Regions from separate parts of the Homo sapiens genome. Here region 1 is linked to region 2. Evidence: promoter capture Hi-C in 16 types of primary human blood cells and fetal thymus (Javierre and others, 2016). All regions are on one chromosome and are shown on one strand. The core of a region is centred on a gene start or on the middle of the fragment in contact, and the rest is flanking DNA. Distances in the headings are between cores, read along the strand shown.

What was found. Contacts are between HindIII fragments. The CHiCAGO score rates a contact against its expected background, and 5 or more counts as called.
Region 1: a contact is called between the fragment with the promoter of EIF3G here and the fragment with the promoter of C19orf38 in region 2, in 1 of 17 cell types (monocytes). The highest score is 6.0, in monocytes.

What each region holds. Positions count from the first base shown.
Region 1 is chr19:10,118,649-10,122,838 of GRCh38, reverse strand. EIF3G (eukaryotic translation initiation factor 3 subunit G) reads left to right here and starts at 2,940. Exons shown (of 11, transcript NM_003755.5): 1 at 2,940-2,999; 2 at 3,139-3,185; 3 at 3,668-3,751; 4 at 3,883-3,971; 5 at 4,112-4,171. The coding sequence starts at 2,980. RefSeq lists enhancers at 2,682-3,437, 3,438-4,190. The HindIII fragment of the contact is 4,736 bases long and covers 535-4,190 here.
Region 2 is chr19:10,845,484-10,850,107 of GRCh38, reverse strand. C19orf38 (chromosome 19 open reading frame 38) reads right to left here and starts at 1,693. Exons shown (of 7, transcript NM_001136482.3): 1 at 1,569-1,693. The coding sequence starts at 1,599. The HindIII fragment of the contact is 13,315 bases long and covers 1-4,624 here.

The DNA.
Region 1 (4,190 bases), core at 1,691-4,190, 730 kb after region 2:
CAAAAATAATATTTCCTTTCTTGGTGCCTTCTTTCCAAAGCATTCCTCATTAACAGGTTCTGATTCTTTCTTTCCAGGAAATGATTTGCATATATCTGCATATCTATGTGCTGTTGAAGATTTACACAAATTGGTTCCTGTAATATATGCCATTTTATATATCGCTTCCTCTTTTTTTTTTTTTTTTTTTTGAGATGGAGTCTTGCTCTGTCGCCCAGGCTGGAGTGCAATGGCGATTCTCCTGCCTCAGCCTCCCAAGTAGCTGGGATTACAGGCACCCACCACCATGGCCAGATTTTTTTTTTTTTTTTTTTGTATTTTTAGTAGAGACGGCATCTCACCATGTTGGCCAGGGGCTGGTCTTGAACTCCTAACCTCAGGTGATCCACCCACCTCGGCCTCCCGATTACAGGTGCCCAGCCTGTTTCCCTATAACATCTTTACTACCACGGGGTGATATCGAATTTTTGAAGCTTTGCCCAATCTGCTGGGTTGTTTGGATTTTGTGTTGCTCAGAGTACATTTGAGTAAGCTTGTAAAAATGTTTATCAGTCCTTTGGACCAGCTTCATATTTTCACCAATATAGCCAGGCCACCCTCCTGAAAGGCCACAGCGGCGTGCCTCTCTTTCCTGCTCTCCAGCTAATGTTTTCCCTTCCACTTGGCTCTCTACAGGCTTCTAGAATAATTTTTTCCACAAGAAAAGTTGGTGATATTCCAAACACTTGAGTGGCCTCCTCACTCACAACTCAGAGGATAAAAAAGCATAAACTTTTTTTTCCTGTCTTCTTATTTATTTTTCTCAGGGCATTCTCCCTTACAAGTTATTTTTTGTTTTGTTGCGTGTGTGTGTGTGCGTGTGTGTGTTTTTGAGACAGGGTCTCTCTCTGTTACCCAGGCTGAAGTACAGTCGCATGATCATGGCTCAACCTCCTGGGCTGAAGCTGTTCTCCCACCTCAGCCTCCTGAGTATCTGGGACTACAGGCACACAGAACTATGCCCAGCTGATTAAAAAAAAAAAATTTTTTTAAGGGCCGGGCGCAGTGGCTCACACCTGTAATCCCAGCACCTTGGGAGGCCGAGGTGGGCCCCCGTCTCTACTAAACCGTCTACTAAAAACACAAAAATTAGCACGGCGTGGTGGTGGTCATCTGTAATCCCAGCTACTCGGGAGGCTGAGGCAGGAGAATCACTAGAACCCGGAAGGCAGAGGTTGCAGTGAGCCGCGATTGCGCCGCTGCACTCCAGCCTGGGCGACAGAGTGAGACTCCATCTCAAAAAAAAAAAAAAAAGTTGTTTTTTAGAGATGGGGGGTCTCACTATGTGTTGCCCAGGCTGGTCGAATTCCAGGGCTGAAGTGATCCTTCTGCCTCAGTCTCCCAAAGTTCTGGGATTACAGGCGCGGGCCACCACACCCAGCTAATTTTTGTATTTTTAGTAAAGACGGGGTTTCGCCATATTGCCCAGGCTGGTCTCGAACTCCTGACTTCAAGAGATCTGCCCATCTTGGCCTCTCAAAGTGCTGGGATTACAGGCGTGAGCCACTGCGTCCGACATTGTCAAACGTTTTTTGTTCATTATCACCCTTCTTAGGAGAAAACCCGAATTATCCTAAAATTGAATTTACATCAACTAAATTAATTTCAATTTAATTACATTTAATATCTCCCTAAAGGCAGAAACTAAATACTTAGGGATAAATGCTGTCTGATAGAGCTGGCTTTGGAAGACCACAATATCTAAGATTTTTTTCCTCCCTGAGGACCAGTTTTTTCCCCTGGGGAGTCATCATGAATCACTTCGACTGAGGACGGTTGTGCTTAGAGCAAGGAGCTGAGCAATAAACAAGTAAATGCACAAAATTATACCGGAAAGCCAAGAATGCTACAAAGAAAAGAAGAGGGAGTGGCTGAGGGGAGGCCACTTGGCATCTGAATCATTGGGATCGGGAAAGAAGACAAGGAACAGTTTAAGCAAAAGGATTGTTTTCCCCGAACTTTGGTTTCTTTTTTCTTTCTTTTTCTTTTTTTCTTTTTTAGAGACAGGGGTCTCACTATGTTGCCCAGGCTTGTCTCAAACTCCTGGCCTCAAGCCATCCCCACGCCTTGGTCTCCCAAAGTGCGGGATTACAGGCAGGCGCCACTGCACCCAGTCTGAGCCTCAGTTTCTTCAGCTGTAAAATGGAAGTAATATCCTCCTCACCATGCTTCATATACAATAAGCACTCAATAAGTGAGCTTTATGATTATTATTATTTATTTTAATTTTACTTATTTTTCTGAGACGGAGTCTCACTCTGCAGCCCCAGGCTGGAGTGCAGTGGTGCGATCTCGGCTCACTGCAGCCTCCGCCTCCTGGGTTCAAGCGATTCTCCCGCCTCAGCCTCCCGAGTAGCTGGGATTACAGGTGCCCACCACCACGCCTGGCTAATTTTTTTTTTTTTTTTTTTTTTGAGACGGTGTCTCGCTCTGTCGCCAGGCTGGAGTGCAGTGGCGCGATCTCGGCTCACTGCAACCTCCGCCTCCCGGGTTCAAGCGATTCTCCTGCCTCAGCCTCCCGAGTAGCTGGAACTGCAGGCACGCACTACCACGCCCAGTTAATTTTTGTGTTTTTAGTAGTGACGGGGTTTCGCCACGTTGGCCAAGCTGGTCTCGAACTCCTTACCTCAGGTGATCCGCCCGCCTCGACCTCCCAAAGTGCGAGGATTACAGGCTTGAGCCACCTCGCCTGGCCTATTTTAATTTTAAAGGTTAATAGGACCAGCCCTGAAATCAGCCTCTGCCCCCGCTGGCCCTACTCTGGTACCAGCAGCGCCCAGTAGCATACACAGCCGCGTGCGCCTCCACCTCCGTCCGCAGGTGTCGCTGTGGGTGCCGCGGCTGGGCCCCTCTAGGCGGCGACGGCGGCACCGGAAGTCTCGTTTTCGCCCGCTTCCGCTCTCTGGCCGGGCTTGGGCTGCGTGGAGAATACTTTTTGCGATGCCTACTGGAGACTTTGAGTGAGTCGGCGATCGCGGAAAGGGGCACGGGAAGCGGTTGGGGTGCTCTGGGAAGTATTATGGGGCCTGGGTACGCCGAGGCTGCGGGAGCCGGGCCTGGCTGACTTAATCTTCGTTCCCCACACATTTGTTTCCGCAGTTCGAAGCCCAGTTGGGCCGACCAGGTGGAGGAGGAGGGGGAGGACGGTAAGTGTACACGGTCGCCCGGGGTATTCGCGGCCAGGCCCAAGCCGTGTGACTGCCGCCTGCTTCCATCTCCCAGTCTGGCACCGTGTACCCCGTCACGGTCTGCCCCTGCCCCGCGCCATCCTCCTTGGGACCCGCCTGTTGCCAACTCCAGGTGTTCCCCGGCGGGTCCCTCTTCCTCCCATGCCACTGCCTCCCAGCTGTTCCCCTCCAGGGAGGAAGTTGTAATCTCCCGTCTCCTGTTTCTCTACTGGCGCCTGGTTGGCTTCATGGCCTGGCACCCACCTTCCTACGAGGGATCTCCCATCCTTGCCACTCCGAGTCCCCACAGGGCCATCCCAGTGCGTTGCCTGGCCAGCCCTCTGCCCTTGGCCTGCCTTTCTCCGCTTTTGCTGTAGGCGTCATCCCAAAAGCCCTTCCATCGCAGCTGGGGAGCTCCTGCCCCTGGAGCTGACTCCTCCTTCCTACGCTGCCTTTTGCAGACAAATGTGTCACCAGCGAGCTCCTCAAGGGGATCCCTCTGGCCACAGGTGACACCAGCCCAGAGCCAGAGCTACTGCCGGGAGGTGAGTGAGGACTGCCGGGAGGTGAGTGAGGACTGCCACTCGGTGTCCGGGCTGCCTCTCCCTCCAGCCCTGCCGCTCCTGATCCCCATGACCCAGGGCTCAGTCTTTCTCTGTTTTTCCCCTTCTGCCAGCTCCACTGCCGCCTCCCAAGGAGGTCATCAACGGAAACATAAAGACAGTGACAGAGTACAAGATAGATGAGGATGGCAAGAAGTTCAAGGTGAGGGTGGGGGGTGCAGGGAGTGGGGACCCTTGTGCTTGGGGGCCCATAGACCGGAATGGGGTGGGGTGTGTTGAGGAGGTTGATAAAGGAGATCCCTTGGTCCCAGGAGCCTGACCCTTCTCCCCTCCCATCCTCAGATTGTCCGCACCTTCAGGATTGAGACCCGGAAGGCTTCAAAGGCTGTCGCAAGGAGGAAGGTGAGGCTCTTCTTCCCCA
Region 2 (4,624 bases), core at 444-2,943:
GGTGACGGCTCCCTGTAGTTGAATTACTTTTCTTTTTTCTTTTTTTTGTGAGTCGGAGTCTCACTCTGCCACCCAGGATGGAATGTAGTGGTGTGATCTCGGCTCACTACAGCCTCCACCTCCCGGGTTCAAGTGATTCTCCAGCCTCCCAAGTAGCTAGGATTACAGGCATGTGGCACTATGCCTGGCCAATTTTTATATTTTTAGTAGAGATGGGGTTTCACTATATTGGCCAGACTGGTCTCGAACTCCTGGCCTCGTGTGACTCCCCCCACCTCGGCCTCCCAAAGTGCTGGGATTATAGGCGTGAGCTACCATGCCTGGCCATCAGTTTTCAATAATAGCATTGGTTATTACATAGCAACACAACTATACTCTTATTTTTTATTTAATTTATTATTACTTTATTTATTTATTTAGAGACAAAATCTTGCTTTGTCGCCCAGGCTGGAGTACAGTGGCCTCAGCCTCCTGAGTACCTGGGACTATGTGCCACCATGCCTGGCTAATTTTTATATTTTTAGTAGAGACGGGGTTTCACCATGTTGGCCAGGCTGGTGAACCTGGCTAGCTAATTTTGCTTATTTTGTGTAGAGATGGGATCTCACTATGTTGCCCAGATCCTCACCTCAAGTGATCCTCCCACCTTGGCCTCCCACGAGCTGAGTCCTGAGTGGTGAGGAAGGACCCATTTGGAGAGCTGGGGAAGGGCATTCCAACAGAGGGAACAGCATAGGCAAAGGTCCAGGGGATGGAAGGGGAATGGGGGTGTTTAAGGAGGAGCAAACACCTGATGCAGTGGCTCACGCCTGTAATCCCAGCACTTTGGGAGGCCAAGGTGGGAGGACTGCTTGAGCCCAGGAATTTGAGACTAGCCTGGAGAACACAGTGAGACCCTGTCTCTATTTAAAAATAAAAATAAATATTAAAAAAGGAGCAGCAAGGAGGCCATCATGGCAGGAGGGAGGGGGTGAGTGAGGTGGGTGGCAGGAAGGGGAGGGGGTGAGTGAGAGGGAGGGCAGGAGAAGGAAGGGCAGAGGACTTTTATCTCCTTTCCCAGGCTTGGGTGAAGAATACGGATTTTGGAGCACGGCTTCCTGCAGGATGGTCTCCTGGGGATCCATCTCTCTCCTGATTGCCCACAGGCTTCTGAGCAGAGTGTCTGGCCAGGTGAGGTCTATACAAACCCTCCCTCGTCCAGCCTCCAACCCCCACCCACCCCTGCCACACTGATATCCCCCTAGGTAGACCCTCCTGCTGCCCCAGCACTCAAGGAGCCTTCAGAGACGAAGCGGGGCTGAATCATGGGGTGTGGGCACAGCTGACTCCAGAGGGGTGATATTTCTGATATTCATAAACTTGGGGGTGATGAGGAGCCTAAGAAGAAAAAACCAACACTACTGGAGAGTTTCCAAGGCTCAGGGGGAAAACCCATCTGCCAAGGGCTCAGCCTCCTCGATGCCCTGAGAACGGCAGCCCCTGCACTGGTTTCTGCCCCTGGAGCGGCAAGGTGGACAGAGGATGGGGGGAAAGGCGTGGGGGATCTGAGAGGGGGGCTTCAGACTCACCAGCTGCAAAGAGCAAGATGGTCCAGGGCATCTCTCTCTGCGTTTGGCTGGGAAATCCGGCTGAGGCCAGAGGGGCCCAAGGCTCCCCGCCAACTCCTCCTGTGAGGCCAGATCGGGGAAAGGAGAACCAGGGCTGATTCTCGAGCTGAGAGTTTCCTCACTGGCAGGAAGTTGCACACACAGGCTTGGGCACTGAAAGGGACTCTCTCCCCTCCCCACCCCTTCCCCAAACACACATCAGACCCGCGCACCTCTCTGGTTGCGGTTCTGCAGATTAGAGGGGAAAAAAATGGATGAGATGTTTAGGTGGTTTTCACAATTTTTTCCTCTTTTTTTATTTTTATTTTTTGAGACAGAGTCTTGCTCTGTTGCCCAGGCTGGAGTGCAGTGGAGCGATCTCGGCTCACTGCAGCCTCCACCTCCCAGGTTCGAGTGATTCTCCTGCCTCAGCCTCCTGAGTAGCTGGGACTACAGGCAGGAGCCATCATGCACAGCTAATTTTTGTATTTTTAGTAGAGACGGGGTTTTGCTGTGTTGGCCAGGATGGTCTCGATCTCTTGACCTCATTATCTGCCCGCCCCAGCCTCCCAAAGTGCTGGGATTTCAGGCGTGAGCCACCGTGCCCAGCCTTTTGTCTCTCCTTCTAAGAGAACTCCTGGGAATGAGACAGGGTGACAGCAGTGGGATGTTTGGAAACCCATGCCCAAGACACAAACCATAGCCTAACCAGCACCAACATTTAAACAAATATGGGCAGGAGTGGGAGGACATGGTGGTTAGGGCTTGGCCTCTGTGACCTCAGGCATGGCTTACCTCCTTTGAGGCTTCAGTATACTGCTCTGCAGAATGGGGCTAAGAGTAGTAGACATTAGGCCAGACGTGGTGGCTCACGCCTGTAATCCCAGCACTTTGGGAGGCTGAGGTGGGCAGATCACCTGAGGTCAGGAGTTCGAGACCAGGCCAACGTGGTGAAACCCCGTCTCTACTATATACAAAAAATTAGCCGGGCGTGGTGGCACACGCCTGTAATCCCAGCTACTCGGGAGGCTGAGGCAGGAGAATCACTTGAACCCAGGAGATGGAGATTGTGGTGAGTTGAGATCGCGCCATTGCACTCCAGCCTGGGCAACAAGAGTGAAATTCCATCTCAAAAAAAAAAAAAAAAAAAAAGAGCAGTGGACATTAGATTCAAAGAACTTGTAGTAGGAAATGCAACGCCTAGTGGGTAGTGCATGCTCACAAGGTAAAGTTACAGGGAGGAAAAAGACTCAGAAGTTTGATCAGCCACATGAAAGGGAATACCAGTTCCAGATCAATTCTGGATATAGTTTGTGATATAGTTCACAGGATAAACTGCCTCCTGTTTACAGCCCAGAAACTTCCAAGTTTCTCTTACTACTGGGTTTGCATTTATCTTTTTAAACATTTCTGTTCAAGCCAGTCAGGTTTGCTTGGGGGTTTGGACCCAAGAAGGATGTGGCATGTGGTCATCAAACACCAAAATGCGTCATTAGAGTAAACTTTTTTCTTTGGACACAGAAAGTTCAATCCAACCTCAGGGCCTTTGCACACACTATTTCCCTGGCCTGGAACACAATTCTGTCAACCTGGTCAAATCCTGCTTCTCCTTCAGGTCTCAGTTTAAATAGCACTTCTGGGAAAACTTTCCAGGCCCCTCTGGACTTAGAACAATCCCCTAGCTAAATTCTCCCACAGTGCCCTGTAATATTCCTTTATTGCAATTGGCATGCTTGTATCTTCAAGGAATTTGCTCATTTCATCAGAGTTGTCAAATGTATTGGTGTAAAGTTATTTATATCCCCTTACTATCCTTTTAATGTCTGTAGGGTCTGTAGTGATGTTCCTTCTTTCATTCCTGACACATAAATTAGTGAAGTCTCCTTGTCTCTTATCGGTCTTCCTAGGAGCTAATCATTGTTATTGATCTTTTCAAAGTGCCACAGTTTGGATTTGTTGTTTTATTTTCTATTTTATTGCCTTTTGACTTGACTTTATTCTTTTCTTTTTTCTGGTTACCTTATGTTCAATTGGCTCTTCTTTTCCTAGCTCATGTTTTGTTTTTAAATTTAAACTTCACCAGCAGAAATTTGTATTAATAGCTTCTTAAGATGGATGCTTATATAAACTCTTTTTATTAAAAAAAAATTTTTTTTAATTAGCCAGATGTGGTAGTGGGTGCCTGTAGTCCCAGCTACTCGGGAGGCTGAGGCTGGAGAATGGCGTGAACCCGGGAAGGAGAGCTTGCAGTGAGCTGAGATCATGCCACTGCACTCCAGCCTGGGCAACAGAGCGAGACTCTGTCTCAAAAAAAAAACAACAAAAAAACATTTTTTTTTTGAGACAGGGTCTTGCTCTATTGCTCAGGCTACAGTGAAGCAGCATGATCATGACTCACTGCAGCCTCACCCTGCTGGGCTCAAGAGATCATCCCATCTCAGCCTCCTGAGTAGCTGGGACTACAGGTGTCCACCACCACACCTGGCTAATTAAAAAAAAAAAAATTGTAGAGACAGGGTCCTATTATGTTACCCAGCCTGATCTTGAACTCCTGGGCTCAAGCAATCCTCCTGACTCAGCCTCCCAAAGTGCTGGGATTACAGGCAGCTCATTAACTTTAAACCCTCTTTTTTTTTTTTTTTTTTGACGGAGTCTTGCTCTGTCGCCCAGGCTGGAGTGCAATGGCGTGATCTCGGCTCACTGCAAGCTCTGCCTCCCAGGTTCACGCCATTCTCCTGCCTCAGACTCCTGAGTAGCTGGGACTACAGGCACCCACCACCATGCATGGCTAATTTTTTGTATTTTTAGTGGAGATGGGGTTTCACCATGTTAGCCAGGATGGTCTCGATCTCCTGACCTCATGATCCACCTGCCTCGGCCTCCCAAAGTGCTGGGATTACAGGCGTGAGCCACCGCACCCGGCCCACCTTTATCTTCTAATACAAGCATTTAAAGGTACACCTTTCCCTCCAAGAACTGTTTTAACTGCATGCCACACATTTTCATATATTGAGCGTCATTAAGTTAGAAATATTTGC